Linked DNA regions of Homo sapiens: region 2 is linked to region 1. Evidence: promoter capture Hi-C in 16 types of primary human blood cells and fetal thymus (Javierre and others, 2016). All regions are on one chromosome and are shown on one strand. Each heading gives the region's core, a stretch centred on a gene start or on the middle of the fragment in contact. The rest is flanking DNA. Distances are from core to core; before and after follow the strand shown. Region 1 holds the start of SLC38A7 (solute carrier family 38 member 7). Region 2 has its middle 34 kb from the start of PRSS54.

The links. Contacts are between HindIII fragments. The CHiCAGO score rates a contact against its expected background, and 5 or more counts as called.
Region 2: a fragment that was not itself captured here is called in contact with the fragment with the promoter of SLC38A7 in region 1 in 1 of 17 cell types (total CD4 T cells); the score reaches 5.6 in total CD4 T cells.

What each region holds. Positions count from the first base shown.
Region 1 is chr16:58,682,615-58,688,659 of GRCh38, reverse strand. It overlaps SLC38A7 (solute carrier family 38 member 7), which reads left to right and starts at 3,890. Exons shown (of 12, transcript NM_018231.3): 1 at 3,890-3,943; 2 at 4,482-4,705. RefSeq lists enhancers at 4,104-4,163, 3,674-4,518. The HindIII fragment of the contact is 5,837 bases long and covers 3,833-6,045 here.
Region 2 is chr16:58,326,222-58,332,266 of GRCh38, reverse strand. No RefSeq gene overlaps it. Among named protein-coding and RNA genes, the nearest start is that of PRSS54, 34 kb to the right of the region's middle. The HindIII fragment of the contact is 398 bases long and covers 2,653-3,050 here.

The DNA.
Region 1 (6,045 bases), core at 2,641-5,140:
ACTAAAAATACAAAATTAGTTGGGCGTGGGGGTGGGCACCTGTAATCCCAGCTACTCGGGAGGCTGAGGCAGGAGAATCGCTTGAACCCAGGAGGCAGAGGTTACAGTGAGCCAAGATCATGCCATTGCACTCCAACCTGGGCAAAAAGAGCGAAATTCCATCTCAAATAAAACAACCTTGTACATGAATGTTCACAGCACCATTATTCACAGTAGCCAAAAAGAAAAAATAACACAAATATCAACTACTGAACAGATAAAAAAATGTGGTGTAATGAGAAAAACACTGAATTGTACGAAAAACCTTCCCCCAAACTTGGAGGCAGTTGAGAGACCAGAGAATGACTCAGGCAAGTCCAGCTTGGCGAGTAGATGAGTTTGAGGACTTACATACGGGACACTCCTTGACAGCAGCAGGACAGTGCTAGAGATCCGCGCCACCTCCCATCTCTAAGCCATTTTTAAGCTAATTTTCTAGCTCTTTGCCTACTGCGTGTATGCAGTGGGACTGTTTTCCTTGGTAGATTCTCAGATCCTCTCCAGGATGTTTGAGTTCTCAGGAATATCTGCTCCTAGGCTGGGCACCATGGCCTTGGCTCACCACCCAGCATTCAGGATTCAAGCAGTGGATATACACCTCCAAGTAACCTGATGGGGGACCTGCCACACTACATGTGGTATAGCCATACAACAGAACATTATTCAGCAATAAAAATGAATGAAATACTGGTTCATGTTCCAACTAGGATGAGCACTGAAAACAGTATGCTCAGTGAAAGAAGCAGACAGAACAGGTCACATATTGTGTGACTCAATTTATATGAAAGGTCAAGAATAGGCAAACCCACAGAAGCAAAGAGTAGATTCAGAGTTGCCAGGGGCTTGGTGGAGGGGGAGATGGGAAGTGACTGCTAATGGGTTCAGGATTTTAGTAGGGGAGGGTGATCACAATATTCTGAAATTAGATAGTGGTCATCATTGCACAACTCTGAAGAAACTAAAATGCACCTTATTGGACTCTTTCAAAGGGTGGATTTTATGGCATACGAATATCTCAACAAAACTATTCTTATTTTTTAAATTTTTTTTTCCAAGGCAGAGTCTCACTCTGTTGCCCAAGTTGGAGTGCAGTGGCGCAATCTCGGCTCACTGCAGCCTCCACCTCCCAGGTTCAAGTGATTCTCGTGACTCAGCCTCCTGAGTAACAGGGATTACAGACATGCACCACCACACCCAGCTAATTTTTGTATTTTTAGTAGAGACAAGAGTTTCACCATGTTGGCCAGACTGGTCTCGAACTCCTGACCTCAAATGATCTGCCTGCCTCAGCCTCCCAAAGTACTGGGATTACAGGCATGAGCCACCATGCCTGGCCTCAATAAAGCTATGTTAAAAAAAAAAAGGCAGACAATTCAAATGTCCTTCAAAGAGTGATGGGTAAGTAAACTGTGGTACATACATACCACTGAATACTACTCAGCAATAAAACCTATCTGTGTTGACGTATATAGCTTAGATGAATCTCTTCTAGGGAATTTTACTGAGTTAAAAAAAAAAAGGCAATCTTAGAAAATTACAGACTGTGTGGTCTATGAACTGAATGTTTGTGTTCATCCCAAACTGATATGTGGAAACCCTAATCCCCAACGTGATAGTATTTGGAGACGTGCCTTTGGGAGGTAATTAGGTAATTAAAGCCCTCATGATGGGATTAGTACTATTTTTTTTTTTTTTGAGACAGAGTCTTACTCTGTCACCCAGGCTGGAATGCAGTGGCACGATCTCGGCTCACTGAAACCTCTGCCTCCTGGGTTCAAGCAATTCTCCTGCCTCAGCCTCCTGAGTAGCTGGATTACAGGCGCATGCCACCACACCCAGCTAATTTGTTTTGTATTTTTAGTAGAGATGGGGTTTCACCATGTTGGTCAGGCTGGTCTTGAACTCCTGACCTCATGATCTACCTGCCTCGGCCTCCCAAAGTGCTGGAATTACAGGCGTGAGCCACCACACCCAGCCGCAGGATTAGTTCACTTATAAGAAGAAACAAGACCAGGCATGGTGGCTCATGCCTGTAATCCAAGCACTTGGGGAGACTGAGACAGGAGGTTCACTTGAGCCCAGGAGTTTGAGGCCATTCTGGGCAACATAGGAAGACCTTGTCTCTATAAAAAATGAAAAGTTAGCTAGGCATGATGGCACGCATGCCTGTAGTCTCAACTATTTGGGAGGCTGAAGCGGGAGGACTAGTGGAGCCTGGGAGATGGCGACTGCAGTGAGCTGTGATTGCGCCACTGCCCTCCAGCCTGGGCAACAGAGACCGTGTCTCTAAAAATAATAATAATAATAAAATAAATAAAAATAAGAGAGAGTTTACTTTCCCTCTCTGCTTTCCGCAATGTGAGGACACAGCAGGAAGATGGCCATCTGAAAACTATGAAGATGGTCCTCCCCAGAACTTGACTCTGCTGGCATTCTGACCTCAGTCTTGACAGCTTCCAGGACGGTGAAAAATAAATCTCTGTCGTTTAAACCACCCAGTCTATGATACTCTGTTATAGCGGCCTTAACTGATTAAGACAGTATGATTCTATTTTTTTTTTTTTTTTTGAGACAGAGTCTCACTCTGTCTCCCAGGCTGGAGTGCAGTGGCACGATCTCTGCTCACCGCCACCTCCGCCCCCCGGGTTCAAGTGATTCTCCTGCCTCAGGCTCCCGAGTAGCTGGGACTACTGGCGTGCACCACCATGCCCAGCTAATTTTTGTATTTTTAATAGAGACAGGACTTCGCCATGTTGGCCAGGCTGGTCTCGAACTCCTGACCTCAAGTGATCAGCCCGCCTTGGCCTCCCAAAGTGCTGGGATTACAGGTGTGAGCCACCGCACTCAACCAGTATGATTCAATTTATATAAACTTTTTGGAGGCCAGGCACGGTGGCTCATGCCTGTAATCCCAGCACTTTGGGAGGCTGAGGTGGGTGGATCACTTGAGGTCAGGAGTTTGAGACCAACCTGGCCAACATGGCGAAACCCCATCTCTACTAAAAATACAAAAATTAGCTGGGAGTGGTGGTGCATGCCTGTAATCCCAGGTACTCGGGAGGCTGAGGCAGGAGAATCACATGAACCCGGGAGGCAGAGGTTGCAGTGAGCAAAGATCGTGCCACTGCACCCCAGCCGGGGAGACAGAGTGAGACTCTGTCTCAAAAAAAAAAAAAAAAAAAAAAAAAAAAAAGGTGTGATTTGGGTTTCTAAGGATTCCCAGTGTGTCCTCATCGGTGAGGACCTCTGATGCATGGAGAGGTAAGTGCAGTGGAGAGCATATCCACAAAACAGAGATGAGGCTATTGGGATGCTGGAGATTACGTGACAATTTATGAGTGACACACAGCCAAGAACAGAACCAGGACTGGATGCCCATTTCGTCATTCAACAAATATTTACTGAGCACCTACAATCCCTCAAAAACTGTTCTAGAGTCTAAACCGATGGGGTCGTAACCATGCCCCCAGCCCACTCCCTTGCAGGAAAGACCGTGGCTCCAGGTCCCCCACATTACTGATTAAAAAAAAACTCCAGTGCTCTGGCCATGGGCGTGAAGGCAAGGACAGAGACCGGGAGGATAATGAGGCCAAACAGCTTTGGCCCACCGCCACCGGGACTGGCAAAGAGGCCAGACCTCCTAATGCTCTTCCTTGGAGGAAGGAGCAGTGTTTGATTTGGTCAAGAGGCCAAGACTAAAAGTAAGAGGATAAACACGAGCTGGCTGGACGCGAGGCTGGCTCAGGGCAGTGCTGTCGGGCTGAGGATTCAGGGAGCTGGTGTTGTCCAAGCTTCACATTTGCGGAAACTACAACTCCCAGCGTGTCCCGCGGCCGCCCGAGCGGGCGTCATGTGATGCATGCTCACGTGTCTCCGCAGCCGGCTCGGGAAAGAATCCCCCAAGGTAGGTGGCCGGAGACAGGCTCTGGAGGGTGGAAGTGTTAGATCCCCGAGGTCTGTGGAGCCCCTCAGTCCCCGCCACCGCGGAAAAGCTCAGACCCTTTCCCTGCAGGGGTCCAGATCCTGGCGTCCTCGCCCCACGCCCGTCCCTCTGTTGCGCCAGCTCTGCCGCGCCTTTACCCAGCCAGAGGGTCTCCACCCAGTCCTAGGCCGGGATCGGGTCCCGGAGCTCCTCCCCAGGTTACCCCACAGTAGCCCACCCTTCTCGCTCCAGGCCTGGGAATCGCCCCGCCCCGGCCTCCTGGCCCGGGTGCGCCCTGGCTCACCTCACAAAGCCTCACCTCACAAAGCAGCCCACCCTTTCTATCTCAGGGCTCCAACCCCAGGCTGGACTGGGAGCACACTCCAGTTGGGATCTGAGGGGCCTACATCGCTGGCCTGAGCATGTGGGCATCAGGCTTCTATTCTGGCTCTGCCAGCTACCCACTGTGACCTTAGTCTAACCTCTCCCTCCTGGGCCTGTTTTCCTATCTGTCCTGAAGCTCCATTTCATGAGTAAGCGTGAGAGCCGCTCAGTTTCCTCCAGCTCTGCTGAAGCCAGCACAGAAGTAGCCCAAACTCTTCCCTCTGCTGACAGCAAATTTTAGGCAAAGTCTTGAGAAAGAAGAAATTGGGTCCAGAAAGGGAAGTGAGGAGAATCAGATCCCAGACCTTTGGGGAGAAGGAGCAACCGCCTCTGGCACAGCCCATCAGGGAGAAAGAGCAGGTAAGGTGCAACAATGAGCTGAGTAATTTGCCAGTGAGCAGTGGGGGTGCCGAGAGGTCTTAACCAAGGCAGAGAATCTGCAAGAGGTGGGACCCCCAGCTTCTGAGTTCCACGAGGACCCCAGCCTGCACTCTCATGTGGGTGGCAGGAGAGGCTGGAGGATGGTGCAGGACTCGGGCAGGGGTGCCCAAGGGAAACATTTTGGTTGGAGAGTCAGGAAGCCGCACCAAGCCTTGTGACCTTGGACGAATCACTCTGTAGACCTCTGTCTCTGTGACGTGAGCAGCGGGGAGGAGATGGTCACAGCTCTGGCAGTGGTCACTTTGCAGGGTTCTTTCTCTAGCTACACTGGAAGCCTGGGAGTCCCAAGACTCTGCCTTCGCTGCTCACTGCTTTGATTTTGCTGAGTTGCTGGTTGGGTGACAGGATGTGTAAGAGGATGTGTAAGCCCTGTGACATCTGACAGATCTTTCTGGGTTTCGAGCCAGCAGAGGAATGTTTCCTCTGGTGCCATGTCCCTTGGTTCCATGCTTGATAACAGATGGCTGAGAGCACATGAACTTTCACCCTTTCCCTCTCATGAGTGGATGGTCCCCAGCTTTGTTTGTCCATCATCAGGAGGAGCAATGGGAAGTAGTCCAAGGGGTCTTGTTAGTCATTTTAAACCCCCAGTGGGCTGAAGGCATCAGAGAGGGTGGCCCAATGGTTAGGGCAGTCATTATGGCTGAATATGCTCAGTTCCCTTTTTTTCCCTCTGGGCTATAAAGACTAAACCAGGCTGGGGGCTGTGGCTCACGCCTGTAATCCCAGCACTTTGGGAGGCCGAGGCAGCAGGATTGCTTGAGCCCAGGAGTTCAAGACCAGCCTGGGCAACATAGTGAGACCTCCTCATCTCTACAGAAAATTTAAACATGACAGGCGTGGGGGGCTTGTCACGTGGGAGAAGTCACATGGGAGAAGAGTTGAGAATTGGCCTGAATTTTGAAAGGCCAATTTTGTTCCCCACAGGAACAAAAAATTTAAAAAGTTGGCCAGGCGTGGTGGCTCACGCCTGTAATCCTAGCACTTTGGGAGGCCAAGGGGGATCACAAGGTCAGGAGTTCAAGACCAGCCTGGCCAACATGGCAAAACCCCATCTCTACTAAAAATACAAAAATTAGCCAGGCATGGTGGCGGGCACCTGTAATCCCAGCTACTCAGGAGGCTGAGGCAGGAAAGTCTCTTGAACCCGGGAGGCAGAGGTTGCAGTGAGCTGAGATTGTGCCATTGCACTCCAGCCTGGGTGACAAAGCAAGACTCCGTCTCAAAAAAAAAAAAAATTTTAAAAGTTAGCTGGCTGT
Region 2 (6,045 bases), core at 1,602-4,101, 360 kb after region 1:
GATCAAGACCATCCTGGCTAACACGGTGAAACCCCATCTCTACTAAAAATACAAAAAATTAGCCGGGCGTGGTGTTGGATGCCTGTAATCCCAGCTACTCGGGAGGCTGAGGCAGGAGAATGGCGTGAACCCAGGAGGCGGAGCCTGCAGTGAGCCGAGATCGCACCACTGCACTCCAGCTTGGGAGACAGAGTAAGACTCTGTCTCAAAAATAAATAAATAAATAAACAAATAAATAAAATAAAATAAATAAATAAATCCATAACGAGAGAAAGCAGATTTGTGGTCACCAGGGATTGGGGGAAGGTGGAATGGGCAGTGGTTGTTTAATGGGTACACAGGGTCTTATTTTGGGGATGATAAAAATGTTTTGAAACCAAGTAGAGGGGGTGGTTGTGTGAATGTGCTGAATGCCACTGCATTGTCCACTTTAAAATGGTGAATTTTATGCTATGTGAATTTCACTTCAATTTAAAAATTTTATGCTATGTGAATTTCACTTCAATTTAAAAATTTTATGCTATGTGAATTTCACTTCAATTTAAAAAAATCATGATATTTTAAAAGCATGCGAATGCCCGAGCCCCACTGTAGCCCCGTGAAACCTGAGTCTCTGGGGGTGGAGCCAGACAGGAAGGAATCTCCCAGGGGCAGCCAGGCTGAGAGCCACACTCACAGGGGATTTGTTGCAGATGGGCTCACACCTGCTCCTTTCTCAGGTCTTATTCAGGTGTCCTCTCCCTAGAAAGTTGTTTTCAAGGGAGCCCCCTCCTCCACCGCCTCACCACTCAGCGGGGTGACACACCCCTTCCCCCCACACTTCATCACACCCAGGACAGGCTTCTTCCTGAGCACCCTGAACTCAATTGCCACCATCTGTTACCCCTCACCGTCATCCCAGATCACAAGCTTTCTCAGGGGGGGCACCATCCTTCCTTCTATTTCAGTTTCTCCAGGACTTGGCACAGAGGGGAGCCTAAGAAATGTTGCGTGAATGACTGACTGAGTGAAGGAATAAATAACAGTGATAAATGACTTTGCGAGTGAATCGGTGAATGAATAAATGAATGAATGAATGAATGAGTGATTGAATGGAAGCGAGGTTCACAAGTCCCTTGTAGCATTTCTTTCATCCATGTAGCTTGCCCAGAGCTTTCAAAACAACTTCTGAAACGTTCTTTTGGGAGCAGGACTTTGATTTCTCTTACATGTTTATTTCTGCAAAATTGAGTAGCTTTACCGCTGGCAGATAGAAGGTGTTCCCAATTTCTTTTCTTTTTTTTTTTTTTGAAACAGAGTTTCACTCTTGTTGCCCAGGCTGGAGTGCAATGGCATGATCTCAGCTCACCACAACCTCCACCTCCCAGGTTCAAGGGATTCTCCTGCCTCTGCTTCCCGAGTAGCTGGGATTACAGGCATGTGCCATGACGCCTGGCTAATTTTGTATTTTTAGTAGAGATAGGGTTTCTCCATGTTGGTCAGGCTGGCCTTGAACTCCCGACCTCAGGTGATCTGCCCGCCTCGGCCTCCCAAAGTGCTGGGATTACAGGCGTGAGCCACTGCCTCCGGCCAGGTGTTCCCAATTTCTTAATTGTCAAGCATCTCTTGCCATGACAGCCAGCCTCTGCACATTGGACTCACCTGGGGGGCTTTAAAGCCATACTGATGCCTGGGTCTCACACCCAATGTCTGAGTCAATTGGTCTGGTGTAGTCAGAAAGGCAATTATTAAAAAGTCAAGAAACAACAGATGCTGGCGAAACTGCAGAGAAATAGGAACGCTTTTACCCTGTTGGTGGGAATGTAAATTAATTCAACAACTGTGGATGGCAGTGTGGCAATTCCTCAAGGATCTAGAACCAGAAATATTTGACCCAGCAATCCCATTACGGGGTATATATTTGGGTATATACCCAAAGGAATATAAATCATTATATTATAAAGATACATGCACATGTATGTTTATTGCAGCCCTATTCACAATAGCAAAGACTTGGAACCAACCCAAATGCCCATCAATGATAGACTGGATAAAGAAAATGTGGTACATATACAGCATGGAATACTATGTAGCCATAAAAAGCAATGAGATCATGTTCTTTGCAGTGACATAGATAAAGCTGGAAGCCATCATCCTCAGCAAACTAACACAGGAACAGAAAACCAAACACCTCTATATTCTCACTCATAAGTGGGAGATGAACAATGAGAATACATGGACACAGGGAGGGGAACAACACACACTGGGGCCTGTCGATGAGGCAGGGGAGGGAAAGCGTCAGGACTAATAGCTAATGCATGCTGGGCTTAATACTTACATAATGGGTTGATAGGTACAGCAAACCACCATGGCACATGTTTACCTATGTAACAAACCTGCATGTTCTGCACATGTATCCCGGAACCTAAAATAAAATAAAAATTTTTTTAAAAAATTGGTCTTGGGTGTGACCAGGACATGGAAGATTCTAAAAGCCCTTAGATGATTCTAACGTGCCTCCAAGTTCACAAACCACTGCATTAATGCTTGGTTGCAGTTTTCTTAAATGGTTTTTTAAAAAATAGAGACTGGGTCTTGCTCTGTCACTCAGGCTACAGTGCAGTGGCACAATCATGTTCACTGCAGCCTTGATCTCCTGGGCTCAAGCAAGCTTCCCACCTCAGCCTCCAGAGTAGCTGGGACTACAGGTGTGTGCCACTACGCCTGGTTACTTTTATTTTTAAAGTCGCAAGCCATGACTCTAATGTTCCCTTATGTGGAAACAGAAGGATATTCAGCACAACCATGGTAGATGCTTGATTTTGCTCTAGAATTTGATGCCATTTCTTTGAGTCTTATTATATTTGGGACCTGAAAGCTGGTAGCTTCTTGGGATTATAGGCATGAGTCACACAGCCTGACCCCACTTGCTCTTGCACAATAGTTTAAGGCTGCCAAAGTGAGAAATTTTTAGGAGCTCGATAAACCTGGAGGCTTATCTTTCTCTCTTTCCTAGTCTGTAAATAAACAGAGCAAGGTGAAGCCAGCATCATAATGTGACATTCCAAGCTTTACATAGTCACTTAGGTAACAATCTATTAAAATTTTATATTTATAGCTAAAACATCTTTTTTAGCTCCATATGTTTGATTTGTTAAAACTATTATACCTTGCTTTTGAAGAAACAAAATGCCTAACCTCCATGTTTTGGTTAAATAAGCTTAAATATTTGTTGTTTTGGGTGATATTTTGTTGGCAATGTTTGTTGTTTCTCTTAGTACAATGTGACAAAAAGTAATCCACTTCAATATTCATGACTAATTCTTAAATTAGATATGGTTCTGTCTAATGACTTCACAAATACTAGCCTTCCTTAGTCTGGATTTTAAAAATTATTATGGTAAAAAACACATTACATAAAATCGACCATAACATAAAATCGACCACTGTATTATAGATTTTTTTAATAATTTTTTTTTGAGACAGAGTCTCATTCTATTACCCAGCCTGGAGTGCAGTAGAGCAGTCTCAGCTCACTGCAGCTTCAACCTCGTGGACTCAAGCAATCCTCTCACCTCAGCCTCCCAAGTAGCTGGGACCACCATGCCTGGCTATTATTTATTTATTTATTTGTATTTTTTGTAGAGACAGGGTTTCACCATGTTGCCCAGACTGGTTAACCATTTTAAAGTGTACGACTTAGGCATGTTAAATACATTCTCAATGTTTTGCAACCATCCCCACTATCTAGCTCCAGAACTTTTTCATCATTTCTGTACCCCATTAAGCAGTCATTCTCCATTCTCTCTCTCCACAGGATTCCATTTATATAAAATTTCCAGAATAGGCAAATCCACAGATGCAGAAAGCAGATTAGTGGTTGCCGGCGGGGTGGGGATGGGGAGAAATGGGGAATGGCTGTTAATGAAGATGGGATTTTTTCTTTTCTTTTCTTTTCTTTTTCTTTTTCTTTTCTTTTTTTTTTTTTTGAGACAGAGTCTCTTGCTGTCGCCCAGGCTAGAGTGCAGTGGTGCCATCTCGGCTGACTGCAACCTCCACCTCCTGGGCTCAAGCGATCCTCCCACCTCAGCCTCCCAAGTAGCCGGGACTACAGGCATGCATCAGCATGTCCAGCTAATTTTTGTATTTTTTAGTAGAGATGGGATTTCATCATATTGGCCAGGCTGGTCTCAAACTCCTTACCTCAGGTGATCCTCCCACTTCAGCCTCCCAAAGTGCTGGGATTAAAGGCGTGTGCCACCACCTGGCCAAGGGATGGAGTTTTTTCAGTGGTAATAAAAATGTTCTGGCCAGGCATGGTGGCTCACGCCTGTAATCCCAGCACTTCAGGAAGCTGAGATGGGCGGATCACCTCAGGTCAGGAGTTTGAGACCAGCCTGACCAACATCGAGAAACCCCGTCTCTATCAAAAATACAAAATTAGCCAGGCGTGGTGGCGCATGCCTGTAATCCCAGCTACTCGGGAGGCTGAGGCAGGAGAATCACTTGAACCCGGGGAGGCAGAGGTTGTGGTGAGCTGAGATCGTGCCGCTGCACTCCAGCCCAGGCAACAAGAGTGAAACTCCGTCTCAAAAAAATAAAAATAAAAATAAAACAAAAATGTTCTAAAACTGGTTATAGTGATGGATGCACCAACCTGTGAATATGGTAAAAAACATTTTTGCACCTTAAGTGGGTAAATTGTATGGTGGGATGTGAATTATATCTCAGTATATCTGCTTTTTAACAAAACCAACAAAACACCTTATGTCTAACTTGTTGAGCTCCAAATAAGCCTTTGAGTTGTGATATTTATTGTTTTGCTAAAGTGTTTCACTCTGGGAAGTTTAACAAAATGAGCACCTCACCTCAGGCAGCTCTCAAAGGGAAAACAAAGTTCCTCATCCTTACTTCTTGGGCAGACTTAACTGACTGCTGTATTTTATTTTTCTTACTTCCAGAGTGTTTTAAGAGTAGGCATTTTCCTCTGAGTACAGCTCTAGTGTTATCCATGAGTTTTTATATGGAGTGTTTTTATTAGCATTATTTCCCAAATATCTTATAAATGTATTTTTGCTCTAGAGCAGTTCCATAGAAAGGCTTGACATTCTCAAACGTCTTTCTGCATCTACTTTTTATTTTATTTTATTTGTTGCCAACTACAAAAGACATCCAATGCTTCTACTTTTAACTTATTTCCTGCGTTCTTGCATTATGATCAGGAATATGACGGTACAATTTCCAATTTCTTATATACAATGGGCTTTCCTTTTTATTTTATCTCATTGTGTCAAGAACACTTAACATGAGAGCTACCCTCTTAATAGATTTTAAAGTGTACAACACAATACTGTTATTTATAGCTACATTGTTATACAGAGGATCTCTAGAACTTTTTCCTCTTGAATAACTGAAATTTTATATCCACTGACTAGCAACTCCCCATTCCCTCCTCCCTCCAGCCTCTGGCAACCACCATTTTATTCTTTCTTTCTATGAGTTTGACACCATATAAGTAGAATCATGTATTTGTCCTTCTGTGATTCGCTTATTTCTCTTGGCATCCTGTTCTCCAGGTTCATCCATGTTGTCACATAACAGGATTTCTTTATTTTAAAGGCAGAATAATATTCCATTGTGTGTATTATTTATTTATTTAGAGAGAGGATCTTGCTCTGTCACCCAGGCTGGAGTGCACCCAGGTTGCTCGGCACACTGCAACCTCTGCCTCCCAGGCTCAGGTGATCCACCCGCCTCGGCCTCCCAAAGTGCTGGGATTACAGGTGTGAACCACCACTCTGGCCTCCATTGTATGTATATACCACATTTTGTTTACCCATTCATCAGTGGACATCGTTATACCTTTTTCCATTTAATTGAAAAGAAGTCTACTCTTTTCAAAGGATACAGTTCAGAACATTTAGTCATTATATTCTCCTCCTCTGTAATATCCTTACTTTCTTTTCTCTATTTAGTCCAACAAAGACTGAAACAAGTGGGTGAAAGTCTACCACCACTGTTGTATTTTTATTAATTTGTCTTAGTTATTCCCTCCAATTTTACATA